Linked DNA regions of Homo sapiens: region 1 is linked to region 2. Evidence: promoter capture Hi-C in human tissues and cell types (Jung and others, 2019). All regions are on one chromosome and are shown on one strand. Each heading gives the region's core, a stretch centred on a gene start or on the middle of the fragment in contact. The rest is flanking DNA. Distances are from core to core; before and after follow the strand shown.

Region 1 (6,398 bases), core at 3,511-6,010, 1.4 Mb before region 2:
GGCCAGGAGTTTAAGAATGCAGTGAGCCATGATTGTGCCACTGCACTCTAGCCTGGGTAATAGAGTAAGACCCCAACTAAAAAAAAAAGGATCAATGTAATCAGTGAACAGAGATGATTTTACTTCTTCCTTTCCAGTGTGGATGCCTTTTATTTCTTTTTCTTGCCTAATTGCTCTGGCTAGAATGTTCAGTGCTATGTTGAATGGAAATAGTGAAAGCAAGCATCCTTGCTTTGTTCCTGATATTAGAGGAAATGTTTTCAATGTTTCACCATTGAGTATGGTGTTCACTGTGGGTGTTTTATATATGGCTTTTTATTATGGTGAGGGTGTATACTTCTATTTCTAGTTTGTTGAGTGTTTATTTTTATCATGAAAAGGTGTTGAATTTTGTCAAATGCTTTTGCTGTTAGAAGGGGAAGGGTCTGTATACCGAAAACTATAAAACACTGATGAAAGAAATGGAAGGAGGCTGGGCACGGTGGCTCATGCCTGTAATCCCAACACTTTGCGAGGGCCAGGTGGGCGGATCACGAGGTCAGAAGTTCGAGACCAGCCTTTCTAATATGCTGAAACCCTGTCTCTACTAAAAATACAAAAAGTAGCCGGGCATGGTGGCGCATGCGTGTGGTCCTGGCTACTCAGGAGGCTGAGGCAGAAGAATCACTTGAACTCAGGAGGTGGAGGTTGCAGTGAGCTGAGATCGTGCCGCTGCACTCCAGCCTGGGTAACAGAGTGAAACTCCATCTCAAAAAAAAAAAAAAAAAGAAATGGAAGGAAACACATATAAATGCAAAGATATCCCATGTTCATGGATTGGAATAATTAGTATTGTTAAAATGTCCATAGTAACCAAACTACCCAAATCCACAGAATCAATGCAATCCTTATCAAAATTCCAAAGTCTTTTTTTATAAAAAAGAAAAAACAATCCTCAAGTCCACATGGAACCACAAAAGACCCCAAACAGTCAAAGCAATCCTGAGCAAAATAACAAATCTGGAGGCATCATACTCCCTGATTTCAAAATATATTATAAAGTTACTGTAATCAAAATAGCATGGTACTGCCATTAAAAAAAAGATATATCAACACATGGAACAGGATATAATGCCCCCAAAATAAACCCATACATTTATGGCAAATTGATTTTTGACAAAGATGCCAAGAATATACAATTTGAAAAGGATACTCTCTTTAATAAATGGTATTGAGAATGCAGAAGATGAAACTAGACTCTTATCTTACACTATATACAAAAATCAACTCAAAATGGATTAAAGACTTAAATATAAAACAAACTGTAAAACTACTAGAAAAAACATAGAGGAAAAGATCTATGACATTGGTCTGAGCAATGAATTTTTGAAAATGACCCTGAAAGCACAGGCAACAAAAGCAAAAATAGACAAATGGGATGATATCAAACTAAAAAGCCTCTGGGCAGCAAAGGAATCAATTAACAGAGTGGAGACAAAAACAGAATGGGAGAAAATATTTGCAAACCATATATCTGATAAGCAGTTAATATCCAAAATATATAACTCAAACAACTCAATGGCAAGAAAACAAATAACCCAGTGAATTAATGGGCAAAGGACCTGAACAGACATTTCTCAAAATACATATGAATGGCCAAAGGTATATGAAAAAATGCTCAACGTGACTAATCATTAGGGAAATGCAAACCACAATGAGATATCACCTCACATGTGTTAGAATGGCTATTATTAAAAAGATGAGGCTGGGCATGGTGGCTCATGCCTATAATCCTAGCATTCTGGGAGGCCAAGGCAAGCAGATCACCTGAGGTCAGGAGTTCTAGACCAGCCTGACCAACATGGTGAAAACCCATCTCTACTAAAAATTAAAAAAAAAAAAAATTAGCCTGGCATGGTGATGCACACCTGTAGTCCCAGCTACTTGGGAGGCTAATGCAGGAGAATCACTTGAACCCGGGAGGCGGAGGTTGAAGTGAGCGGAGATCTCACTACTGCACTCCAGCCTGGGCGACAGGGTGAAACTGCTTCTCAAAAAAACAAACAAATAAATAAAAATAAGAAAATAAGAAAATAAAAAGATGAAAGAAAAAGTGTTGGCGAGGATGTGGAGAGAAGGGCACTCTTGTACACTGTTGGTAGAAATGTAAATTAGTGCAGCCCTTATATAAAAGAGTATGAAGGTTCCTAAAAAACTCAAAATAGAACTACCATATGATCCAGCAATCCCATTGTTGGGTATATATTTAAAGGAACTGAAATGAATATGTTGAAGAGACATCTACAATCTCATATTCATCACAGCATTATTCACAATAGCCAAGATATGGAATCAACCTATGTGTCCACTGGTGGATGAAAGAATAAGGAAAGTGTGGTGTATATAAAAAACAGAATACTATTCAGCCTTTTTTTTTTTTTCGTAAAAAGGGAATTCTGGCTGGACGCGGTGGCTCATGCCTATAATCCCAGCACTTTGGGAAGCCGAGGTGGGCGGATCACTTGAGGTCAGGAGTTTGAGACCAGCCTGGCCAACTTGGTGAAACTCTGTCTGTACTAAAAATACAAAAATTAGCTGGGCATGGTGGTGCGCACCTGTAATCCCAGCTACTCAGGAGGTTGAGGCACGAGAATCACTTGAACCAGGAGGTAGACGTTGCAGTGAGCCAAGACCATACCACTGCACTCCAGCTTGGGAGGCAGAGTGAAACTGCGTCAAAAAAAAAAAAAAAAAAAAGGAAATTCTATTATTTGCCACAACAGGGATTAACCTGGAGAACATTATGTTCAGTGAAATAAGCCAGGCACAGAGAGACAAATACCACATGATCTCACTTATATGCAAGATCTAAAACTGTCCACCTCATAGCCAGCTGCAGTGGCTCATGCCTGTAATCCCAGTGCTTTGGGAGGCTAACATGAGAGGATTTCTTTTTCTTTTTTTTTTTTTTGAGATGGAGTCTTGCTCTGTTGCCAGGCTGGAGTGCAGTGGCGTGATCTTGGCTCACTGCAACCTCCACCTCCTGGGTTCAAGCGAGTCTCCTGCCTCAGTTTCCTGAGTAGCTGGGACTATAGGCACGTGCCACCACACCCAGCTAATTTTTGTATTTTTAATAGAGACGGGGTTTCACCATGTTGGCCAGGATGGTCTCAATCTCTTGACCTCATGATCCACCCACCTTGGCCTCCCAAAGTGCTGGGATTATAGGTGTGAGCCACTGCACCCAGCTGTGAGAGGATTTCTTGAGGCCAATAGTTTCAGACCAGCCTGGGCAACATAGTGAGACCCCATCTCTACCCCCCCAAAAAAAATTAGTCAGGTGTGGTGATGCACACCTGTAGCTCCAGCTACTGGAGAGGCTGATGCAGGAGGATCACTTGAGCCCAGGAGTTCAAGACTACAGTGAGCCATGATTGTGCCACTACACTCCAGCCTGGGTGGCAGAGTAAGACCCCATCTCTAATACAATACAGTAATATAAAAATGTTGTAGAATGCAAAGTATTGTTCCTGGGTGTGTCTGTGAGGGTGTTGCCAAAGGAGATTAACATTTGAGTCAGTGGACTGGGAGAAGCAGACCCACCCTTAGTCTGGCGTGGCACCATCTAATCAGCTGCCAGCACAGCTAGATTAAAACAGGCAGAAGAACATGGAAGGACTTGACTTGCTGAGCCTTCCGGCTTTCATCTTTCTCCCTTGCTGGATGTTTCCTGCCCTCGAACATCAGACTCCAAGTTCTTCAGCTTTTGGACTCTTGGACTTACACCAGTGGTTTGCAGCTCTCGGGCCTTTGTTCACAGACTGAAGGCTGCACTGTTGGCTTCCCTACTTTTGAGGTTTTGGGTCTTGGACTGGCTTCCCTGATCCTCAGCTTGCAGACAGCCTATTGTGGGACTTCACCTTGTGATCATGTGAATCATTACTCCTCAATAAACTCCCCTTCATATATACATCTATCCTATTAGTTCTGTCCCTTTAGAGAACTCTAATATACCTGTCTAACTGAAACTTTGTACCTTTTGAGCAATATCTTCCCATTTCCCACTCTCCCATGCCCCTAGCCTCTGGTAATCTCTGGATACCTGATCTAAGGGGTCCAACAGGATATTTTCATTTTTCAGGTCATAAGATGGGATGGGTTGAAACCTTGTGCCAGCATCATCTTTATGTGGAATCTAGAAGACATAAACTTAAGTAGGAGGTCAACAGGAAAATTATAATTTGGAGGATGAGAAAATTAATGCATCTATGCCCATGGCATCATGTTTTTTATCTTTGTGTTTGTGAAACAACAGCTTTAAGTCTTATAGGAGCTCACAGGTGTAAATCATGGTGTCCTCCTCTTATGCCGTCAGGGATTCATAAGAAACAGATTTAATCTTGGACAGGTGTACCCAACTAGTGATTCCCTGAAGTTTAACAGCAGGGAAGGTACTTAACAATACCTGATAGGGGCTCTTCCATTTGGGTTGTAATTGATCCTCTGGGGATCCTTTTTAACAAAAAGTTTTTTGTAAGACTAGGTGTTCAGGTTGAACAGAGGAGCTATTTCTTTCCTATGTGGGAAAGGGAAGTACTTTGTTATTATAATTTTTGAAGGGCCTTTGTGCCTAGCCTAAATTCTAAGGGGTGGCACAGTGAGGCATGTTTGGCCCCCTGTTTCCTGTCATGGTCTGACTTCTTTTTTTTTGAAGGCTTCTTTGGAATTCCCTTTGGCTAAGGGACTTAGAGTCAAAAGACTTATAGCCAATTAAACATCCTAGGTCAGAAGGAAATGGAGGTGAGCAGGCACTCATTTGCCCTTAAAATCTTTTAAAGCAATATAAGAGTCAAAAACTAAATGCCAATAATAAGGTTATATGTAAAAAAAAAAAAAAAACAGCATAGAATCAAGCTATATTCGGGGAAAACACTGTTTTCGCAGACCTCTAAGACAAAACATTTTAGTACCAGGGCCCAATAGTCAGAACCAGAGGAAAAAAAGTCACAATGTTGATGAAAAGGTTGATGGAAAGAGCCATCATCCCAGGCCTTCTTAAAGGGAGAAAGAATTGAAAGTAGTGAGACACAACAACAGTTGAATCTCTGAGACATGAATCCAAGACATTTTAAAATAAACCAGGTAGATTATTAAAAGCAAAACTTCCTGTAATTTAGCAAATCAATACCTTAAGAAAACCTGTTGCCAATATATAGACCATTCTCTAGAAAGTCTACCACAGTTTTCCTTTAGTCATAGTCAGCTTAAGCTTAATCATACACAAAATTCCCCTTCACAAACCCCATCATGACCCACATGGACCATCTACAACATGCTTGGACTTTCTGACTTGTCCTATAGGACCCCTTCCTTAAAGAACTCATCATTTTACTCTAGGATAAGAATTTACTACACAAGATCCCTCCTCATATAAAATAACTTTGTATTCTTCCTTGTATCCTTCTTTATATCCTTCCTTGTATCCTTCTTTGTATTCTTCCTTGCAAAAAGTACATCTATCCATAACTTTCTTCATATCTCTCTTTTCTACTTACTGGTTCCTTCATATTTTGAACCTCTCTTTTAATAACTTCCAAATTAGACAAAAATTATTATTTTTCCCAATAAAAAACACACTTTCTTTGGCTTATTTTATATAAATCTAAAGAGCAAGAAATTCTGAACTGCTCATCAGACATTGGCACTCTATAGATGAGAACTATTTCACAGCTTTAAGATTTTCAACTATACATAAGCTCACTGTTTAAAAGCCATCCTAACCATTCTAAAGGCTACAAACATCAGAGGTTCATCTAGGTAAAAATCTTAAAGTTAAATTTTAGAAGACATAACATTCCCTTCAAACTAATAAATTTAGACTAGTCTTATTTTTTAATTTATGAATTCTCTTTTATTTATAAGCCAATTTGATAGTATGCTAAACACAACACCCATCACACAAATGAAGTGACCTACACAAGACAGATGGATCCAAGTTACTTATAAAATTGGGACCTGTCTATCTCAATACATTTTGTTTGCCCAGATACGTAGGGAAGACAGGAAGAGGCAGAGAAGGGACCCCATAGCATCAAATAAGGAAGGGAGGTGGTAAACCATGTTGCTCAAGGGGAGGTCTCAGAGTCCTTGAGCTACCAGAGCATCTAGCAGTGGAGACACCAAAGAAAAATGTTCTGGTGGCCACTTGTCTTCCACTGCAAAAAGCTGTCCATTGGGTCAAGGGTCCAGGAATCTGAGTAAATTTACTTGAGCAAGGTGGCTCATTGGGACATATGGAAGAAGGTTAGTTCTAATATTGACGGGGAGCTTTTTCCCTCGTTTGCTGGGGATGGTTAGGACATTCTCATTGTGAATGGTCCTTTTGCTTATAGTAGGCACATTGATTCTGGACCAGGAGC
Region 2 (7,155 bases), core at 4,128-6,627:
TGGTGGCTCACGGCTGTAATCCCAGCACTTTGGGAGGCGGAGGTGGGTGGATCACCAGGTCAGGAATTCGAGACCAGCCTGGCCAACATGGTGAAACCCCGTCTCTACTAAAAATACAAAAATTAGCCAGGCACGGTGGCGGGCACCTGTAATTCCAGCTACTCAGGAGGCTGAGACAGGTGAATCGCTTGAACCCAGGAGGTGGAGTTTGCAGTGAGCTGAGATCGCGCCACTGCACTCTAGCCTGGGCAACAGAGCGAGACTCCAACTCAAAAAAAGAAAAAAAAGAAAACTTTCTATCACTTAAAGCTTATAATCACCCCCCAACACCCTTTAACCCTAGAAGAAGTTTTCTTTCTTTTTTTCTTTTTTCCCGGGGTGGGGGGTGCGGGTGGAGGGAGATGTTCAGGAAATGGTTAAGTAACAAAATCAGAGAGCACGGGATTGAGGTGATTAAGGGCAACAAATGGATGGTAAAGGAAAGTGGGAAAGCCATTCAGTCAGATGATACTGGGCCAGGAGAGTGAGATGAACATGGAGGAGGGGGTGGGCCAAATGATGGAGAGAAGGCTGGAAAGAAAGAGACTTCAGGAGGCAGGTGATGAGGAGAAAGAGGCAGCTGGAGTCAGGGAAGAGGGAAGAATAGAAAGCGGAGACACCAGGGTCGGGGGTCGGGGAGAGAAACCAGGAGTTAGGATAGGGAAGAGGGCCGGGTGTGGTGGCTCATGCCTGTTATCCCAGCACTTTGGGAGGCAGAGGGGGGCGGATCACCTGAGACAGGGAGTTTGAGACCAGCCTGGCCAACATGGTGAAACCCTGTCTCTACTAAAAACACAAAAATTAGCCAGGCATGGTGGCGGGTGCTTGTAATCCCAACTTCTCAGGAAGCTGAGGCAGGAGAATTGCTTGTACCCGGGAGGTGGAGGTTGCAGCGAGCCAAGATCATGCCATTGCACTCCAGGCTGGGTGACACGGTGAGACTGTCTCAAAAAAAAAAAAAAAAAAAAAAGGGAGGGGGAAGAGAATCGAGGAATAAGTCATCACACTTAATGTCTATGCAAACTCTTGACTCACATGAAAACTTCAAGTTTCTTAAATATTGAAGCATCTTTACTTAAAACCTTCCTTCCCTTCTTTTTTTTTTTTTTTTTTTTTTTTAGAGACATGGTTTCACTGTCACTCAGGCTGAAGTGCAGTGGCATAGTCATAGTTCATAGTCCAACTCCTGGGCTCCAGCAATCCTCCACCTCAGTCTCTTTTTTTGTTTGTTTTTTTTTGAGACGGAGTCTCCCTCTGTTGCCCAGGCTGGAGTGCAGTGGCGCGATCTCGGCTCCCTGCAACCTCCGCCTCCCTGGTTCAAACGGTTCTCCTGCCTCAGCCTCCTGAGTGGCTGGGATTACAGGCAGGGACTACAATGCTCAGCTATTTTTTGTATTTGTAGTAGAGACGGGGTTTCACTATGTTGGCCAGGCTGGTCTCAAACTCCTGACCTCATGATCCGCCTGCCTCGGCCTCCCAAAGTGCTGGGATTACAGGCGTGAGCCATGGCGCCCGGCCAAAGCTTTTTAGCCACTGATTATGCTACCTCCTGGGGAACCTTCACAACCAACTTCTCTATTTTAGTTTAGACCTACACTGTTTGGGACATCTTTACTTCCTCCTTAACATTTAAGGAGAAATTGGAAATAGTTTAGCTTAACCAGACTAAAGAGTTCTCTTTTCACACCCTAAAGTCTCCCAAAAGAAATGGGTGGGCCGGGCGTGGTGGCGGACGCCTGTAATCCCAGCTACTTGGAGGCTGAGGCGGGAGAATTGCTTGAACCCAGGAGGTGAAGGTTGCAGTGAGCCAAGATTGAGCCACTGCACTCCAGCCTGGGCAACAAGAGCAAAACTCCATCCCAAAAAAAGAAAAGAAGAGAAAATAAGAGAAAAGAAAATGGTGACTGGATTTTCACTCTCAGCATTTGTTGAGTCTTAGCTTTGCTCAAAAAGGCAGTGATTTATTAATATCTTATTAAGATGCCAATTTATTCCAGCCAGGGACCCTGTTCTCAATGCCTCTAGAATGCATTTTTATTTCCTTCTTCCCATATACCATTGTCAGGGTTGAAGCCAGAGAGTTCATAGTTGGGGAATCCCCCAAGCTCTATTCTCCCTGCAAATGGCTGTTTTAGGGCAATGCAGCCTCACAGATCTGTCCTTGCCAATCAGAGCCACTGTGATGGCGGGAGGAATCACTAGCCATCTGTCTACCTCTTATCTCACCCTATATATCTGCTCTGGATTATTAACAAAGCCTGCCTGTGGAGAAACCATTGTGTATATCTGTTTAAATGTCCCGTTCCCCCAACGCAGACTAGTTAACAAATGGTTTCCTACGGCAAAAGAGCTGGCTGCAATCTGACAAATCTTGCTCTACTGGCAGTCCCATTCAAAATAAGTACTACTATTATTGTTCTAGAGCCTTTTTTTGGGGGGGGGGCGGGGAGATGGAGTCTCACTCTGTAGCCCAAGCTGGAGTGCAATGGCGCCATCTCGGCTCACTGCAACCTCCACCTCTTGCATTCAAGTGATTCTCCTGCCTCAGCCTCCCATGTAACTGGGATTATAGGCATGCACCACCACGCCCGGCTAATTTTGTATTTTTTTTTTAGTAGAGACAGGGTTTTGCCATGTTGGCCAGGCTGGTCTTGAACGCCTGACCTCAGGTGATCCACCTGCCTTGGCCTCCCAAAGTGCTGGGATTACAGGCGTGAGCCACCGCGCCCGGCCTGTTCTAAAGCCTTTCTAGGGTTCTCCCAGCATGCCCATCTGAATTAAACTTGGAGGTATCTGATTGCCAAGGGTGTGCAACTCACCTCCTTGAGGGTTAATTACTTAAGGGGGTCTGAATGTTAAGAAAAAGGGCAAGACCAAGTTGAGCTACTCCTAGAGACTTTCTCTTTGCCGCCAAGTATTCCCTGGGTTATAAGGGTGAGTGGGAAGGAAATAAAGCTGTTTATTTTGCAAATAGCAACAAGGCCCAACACTTAATCTGACAATGGCAAAAGCTTTCTCTCCTGCTTAAAAAACAAACAAAACGAGCTGCTGACTTTTTCTATAACTACAGAGAGCCAGATGCTTATGGGGCCATATCTGGTAGCACCAGTGTGAGAGACTGCTGCTTTTAAAATATACTTTACCATAGTCGGAAAGATTTAAAGAGGCTTTAGATCTGATACAGTTTCTGTGATTATCTTCTTCGTATCAGTGCTCTGAAAATCTAAGAAGTCTGAACAAAACTGGTATCAAAATAAAGAATATTTCCCAGTGACTAGAACGCAAGAAGATGATATCTTATTAACAAACCTTTTTTGCTGTTTGTGAGATGTTTCAGTCGGCTGTTGGAGTAATTATGCAAGCTCTTTAACCTTTCTATACTTCAGTTGTCTATCTTTAAAATGAATATAGCGCTAACAGGCACTTTAGCTTGTCTCCTAAGGATGTTGTGAAACAAAGCAGAGAATGTCTGTACAAACTCCCCAAGTTGTGCATGCAGAAAAACCTTCTGTGGTAATAAATAATAATACCTTGCATTTACGTAGCGCTTTTACCTTGGAGTTCAAGCCTTGATAGAATTAGAAGGTATCATTATTTTAATTGTCTCGCTAACGTCCTCCTGAAAGAGTTGATGGCTGTTTATGCAGGTTATATGATTCACTCCATGCCCTACCTCTCTGCTCCATTCCCTGCTTCCAGGAGTCAGAGCTTAAAGAGTGGGAAACCAAGGCAGGGAGAAAAAGATTTGTGTGACACCGCTCAGCAAGGGCGTAGTGGAGCCAATAGTGCCAACCCCGATGTGTAACGCCCCAGCCACCGTCCTTTGTGGGATTTAGAATTTAAACGGGCCCCAGAGCAAGAGATTGGCTGGGGAAATGCCCGGATCGCGGCTGGGCTGCTCGCATGGCACTGCTCGGGTACCTCCGGCCGGGCTCCGTCGACGTTCGGAGCCTGCTGGCCCGTCGGGCAGCTGTCGGGCCGCGGGAGTCGGTCCGTGGGCAGGGCCGGCGCAGCTCGGGCGGCTGCTGCCCCGTCGCTGACCCCCGCGCGAAGCTGCGCGCACCAACAGGAGACATCTTCCCGGCCGGGCCTCCCGCGCCCGCCACGGCCCAGGGCGGCAGGGTCGGGCCGGGGGCCGGGGGCGGCCCGCGCACCCCTCCGTGGGGGGCGCCCCGACTCGCCGGGGGCGGGGTCACGTCCCACCCGGGCCGCCGGGGGCACCGGCGCGGCGGAAAGCTGAGCGTGGCCGAGGAGCGGGGGCTTCCTGGGCCACCTCGCCGGGCGCCTCCGGCCGGCGGTGGGCGCGCCGGCCGCCACCGCCCCCGGGCCGTCGCGGAGACCGCTTCTGCGCCTGGTACCTGTGGACGCCCTTGTTAAGCGCCTGCAGCACCCCCGGGGAGCCGAGCCCAGGACAGACATGCTACTCCTGTTTCCTGCCCCTTCGGAGCGACGAGCAGTGGGTGAGGCGGGGCCAGGCCGCTGCACCGAGGAGCCCCCGGGCCCAGGGCAGACGGGCCCCGTGGCGGCGGCGCCGGGGCCTGCCCGGGAATGGCGGGCAAGCCGGCCTCGGCCCACCGGCCGGCACGCGAAGGGAGGGCAGCCGGCGGCCATGCGCCCCTTCCCTGCGCCCTCTCGCCCTGGGCAGGCCTGAGCCGGGAGCCCAGGTCCCGCGGGCCCAGCCCGGCGGCTTGACCCCGGGAGACCCTGCTTTGAGGCGGGTATCGGTTGCCCTGGCCCAGGCCTCCCGGCCCTCAGGTTGTGTGACTGTGACGGGCAGCCTGGGGCCAAAGGCGGTTGAAGGGGAAGGGGACGCAGATCTCCCACTGCTTGGGGGGGGTGATGTGCTTTGTGGGGGGTCGGGGGTCACCACCCTCCCAGGGGGGTGGGGGAGGGCGGCCAGCACAGCTGGCCGCGAGGGGCGGGGTCGCAGAGGCGAAGTGTGTGTGAGGGTGTGTGGGGGGAGGGCGCGCGGAGGAGGATCGGTGCCCTGCGCGCAGGCGCGAGCAGCCAGCCAGGCCCGAGCCCTGGAAGAACGCCGACGGGGAGCGGGGGCGGCGGGCTGGCGGGAGGGAGGGAGGGCGGGCGGCCTGACGCGAGGGGGCGCAGGGAGCCGCGTCGGCGTCGCGGGGCGCGGGCGATTCGAGGCCGACGCATCCGCGCGTGCGCGCGCCGGCGGTGTGTCCGCGTTAGAGGGGAGTGACGCGTGCGCGTTCACGCGCGCCCGGGAGAGCGGTAAGAAGCGCAGGGAGGCCTGAAGGGGGTGGGGGGGTGGAGAGGCGAGCTGGAGGAGGGGTGGGGAGGTGGCGCCTGCGCAGTGCGCCTCGGAGGAGCTGTGTGTATGTGAGAGTCTGACGGGTTCAAAATGGCGGCGGCTGCTTCAGCGGCTCCTCCTGTGTGAGGGAAACAACACCCCTCCCCGGCAGCGGCGGCGGCGGCGGCGGCTCTCGGAGCACCTTCCCAGCGGCTGGGCCCGTGGCCGCTCTGTCTTTCCTGGGCAGGGGACGCTCCGGGAGGAGGGGCAACGCCAGGGGGCCCATCCCCCGGAATCCCTCTTCTGCGACTGGGGAGTAGCCGGGGGGCTCGTCCCGCAGCGCGGAGCCAGACCTGAGGGGGAGACGCGAGGGGAGCCAGGGCCCCCATCCCGGCGCGCCGCGCCGCTCCCGCCCTGTCCGCCCCCCGGGGCCGGGGCCCGCGTTCCGGGGGGCCGGGGCGGCGCGGGGAGCCTCGGGCCGGCCGGTCTCAGCTGATCGGCCGCTGCTCCCGCAGGCGACCAGCCCCTGCTGGCCGAGGGCACGGCGAGGAGGGCGCTCCCTGCGGCCGGGGCCGGCCCGGGGCTCGGGCCCGGGCTGCTGACCGCTGGCCTGGGGGAGGCGGGGGCGCCCCGGGCTCGGCGCCGAGGGGTCGCGCTCCTCTCTCCTGACGCCTCCGACTCCCGGTCTCCAAAGCCAGAAGAGAAGGTTTGATTCAGCAACTGTTTGCTCCCTTTTCCTGGTCGCTCTGACCCTCTCTGGATACTGGGTTGATCCACGGAAAAACCGAAGACGACGTTTGGGATTTAATTATTCCTCTCAGCTTTGGAATCTTTTACTTCTCACTTGGACAAGAACTCAAGAGCAGAATCTCCGGTGAGTTTCCCCCTCCCCCCCCTCATTTGGAAGTTTGGTTGACTGTGTTATCCAAAGACTGAATGCAAAGTTTCTATCTCTTTTTCCGATGGGTGAACCATTGAAACGCCTTTTCCTGGGGGAGCCCAGCGAGATTCGCCCTTTTTCCTCTCCGGCCCTGGCTGCTCCATGCCCAGGCGGTCGTCGCCCAGGGGGTGCAAGCACGGTTTCCCTCCCGACTTCGGGCCAGGGCTTCCTCCGGGAGGGCTCTGCCTCTAACTGCTCTGCAAACTGTGTCATCGGGTCCTCTGGTCTCGTAGCAGTTTTGAAAGGATGCTGTTAACGTGGCTGTAATGTAGTGACAAAAACGGGGGGAACCTGTGTTCTCAATGGAAGCCATTATCCACGAGAATATTTAGAAAAAAGAAAACCCTTTCTTGGTATTACGGATTGACCGTCGCGCCGGCCGGTCTTTTATTTAATTTTTGGACAAGATGTATTTTCCTTGTATCCTTAGATGCAATCGTTTATTTTATTACTTTATCCAAAAAGATCAGATGGAATTTTGGTCCTTGATTTGCACCTCTGAAATTTGTTTCAGAGTTGTGCACATCTTGTGTTGGGGTGGAGGGTAGATTTGGGAATGATAAGATCCGGGGAGTCTAGAAAGGAAGGCGACGATTGTGCACGGCCTTACAGGAGGGGTATGGGAAATTGTTTTGGGGTCATTTAAATCCTAATTTTTTGTCCTCTTTTTACATAGTCAGTTTGCCCTTCTTTCCTTTAGTTTCTGATTACCGGTGAGAGAGAACTAATTTGGTTAGGATCTGGATTAGTTCAGTGGTGCTTCACCTGGTCAGCTCTCTGGAGATAAAAGTCCTGGGCTTTTTTTTTTTCTTGCTGATGCTGCCATGAAGGAGATCCTTGCTAGTTGTAATCCTGTGGGGAGAAACTGGTGGTGTGGCCCTTCCACAAGGAACTGAAACCAACATCTCGTTTCGTCTAGGCCTCC

What was found. The method cuts DNA at HindIII sites, captures the fragments that hold promoters and counts their contacts. A contact is called where the count stands out against the background at its distance.
Region 1: a contact is called between a fragment that was not itself captured here and the fragment with the promoter of KDM2A in region 2, in 1 of the 25 tissues and cell types used here (pancreas).

Annotation. Positions count from the first base shown.
Region 1 is chr11:65,731,721-65,738,118 of GRCh38, forward strand. No RefSeq gene overlaps it. Among named protein-coding and RNA genes, the nearest start is that of RNASEH2C, 14 kb to the left of the region's middle. The HindIII fragment of the contact is 9,114 bases long and covers 204-6,398 here.
Region 2 is chr11:67,113,886-67,121,040 of GRCh38, forward strand. It overlaps KDM2A (lysine demethylase 2A), which reads left to right and starts at 5,378. Exons shown (of 21, transcript NM_012308.3): 1 at 5,378-6,164. It overlaps LOC107984341 (a long non-coding RNA gene), which reads right to left and starts at 4,463. Exons shown (of 2, transcript NR_160735.1): 1 at 3,349-4,463. RefSeq lists silencers at 4,285-4,334, 4,475-4,754, 4,935-5,374, 5,515-5,584, 5,765-5,904 and 2 more and an enhancer at 4,815-4,864. The HindIII fragment of the contact is 11,710 bases long and covers 2,306-7,155 here.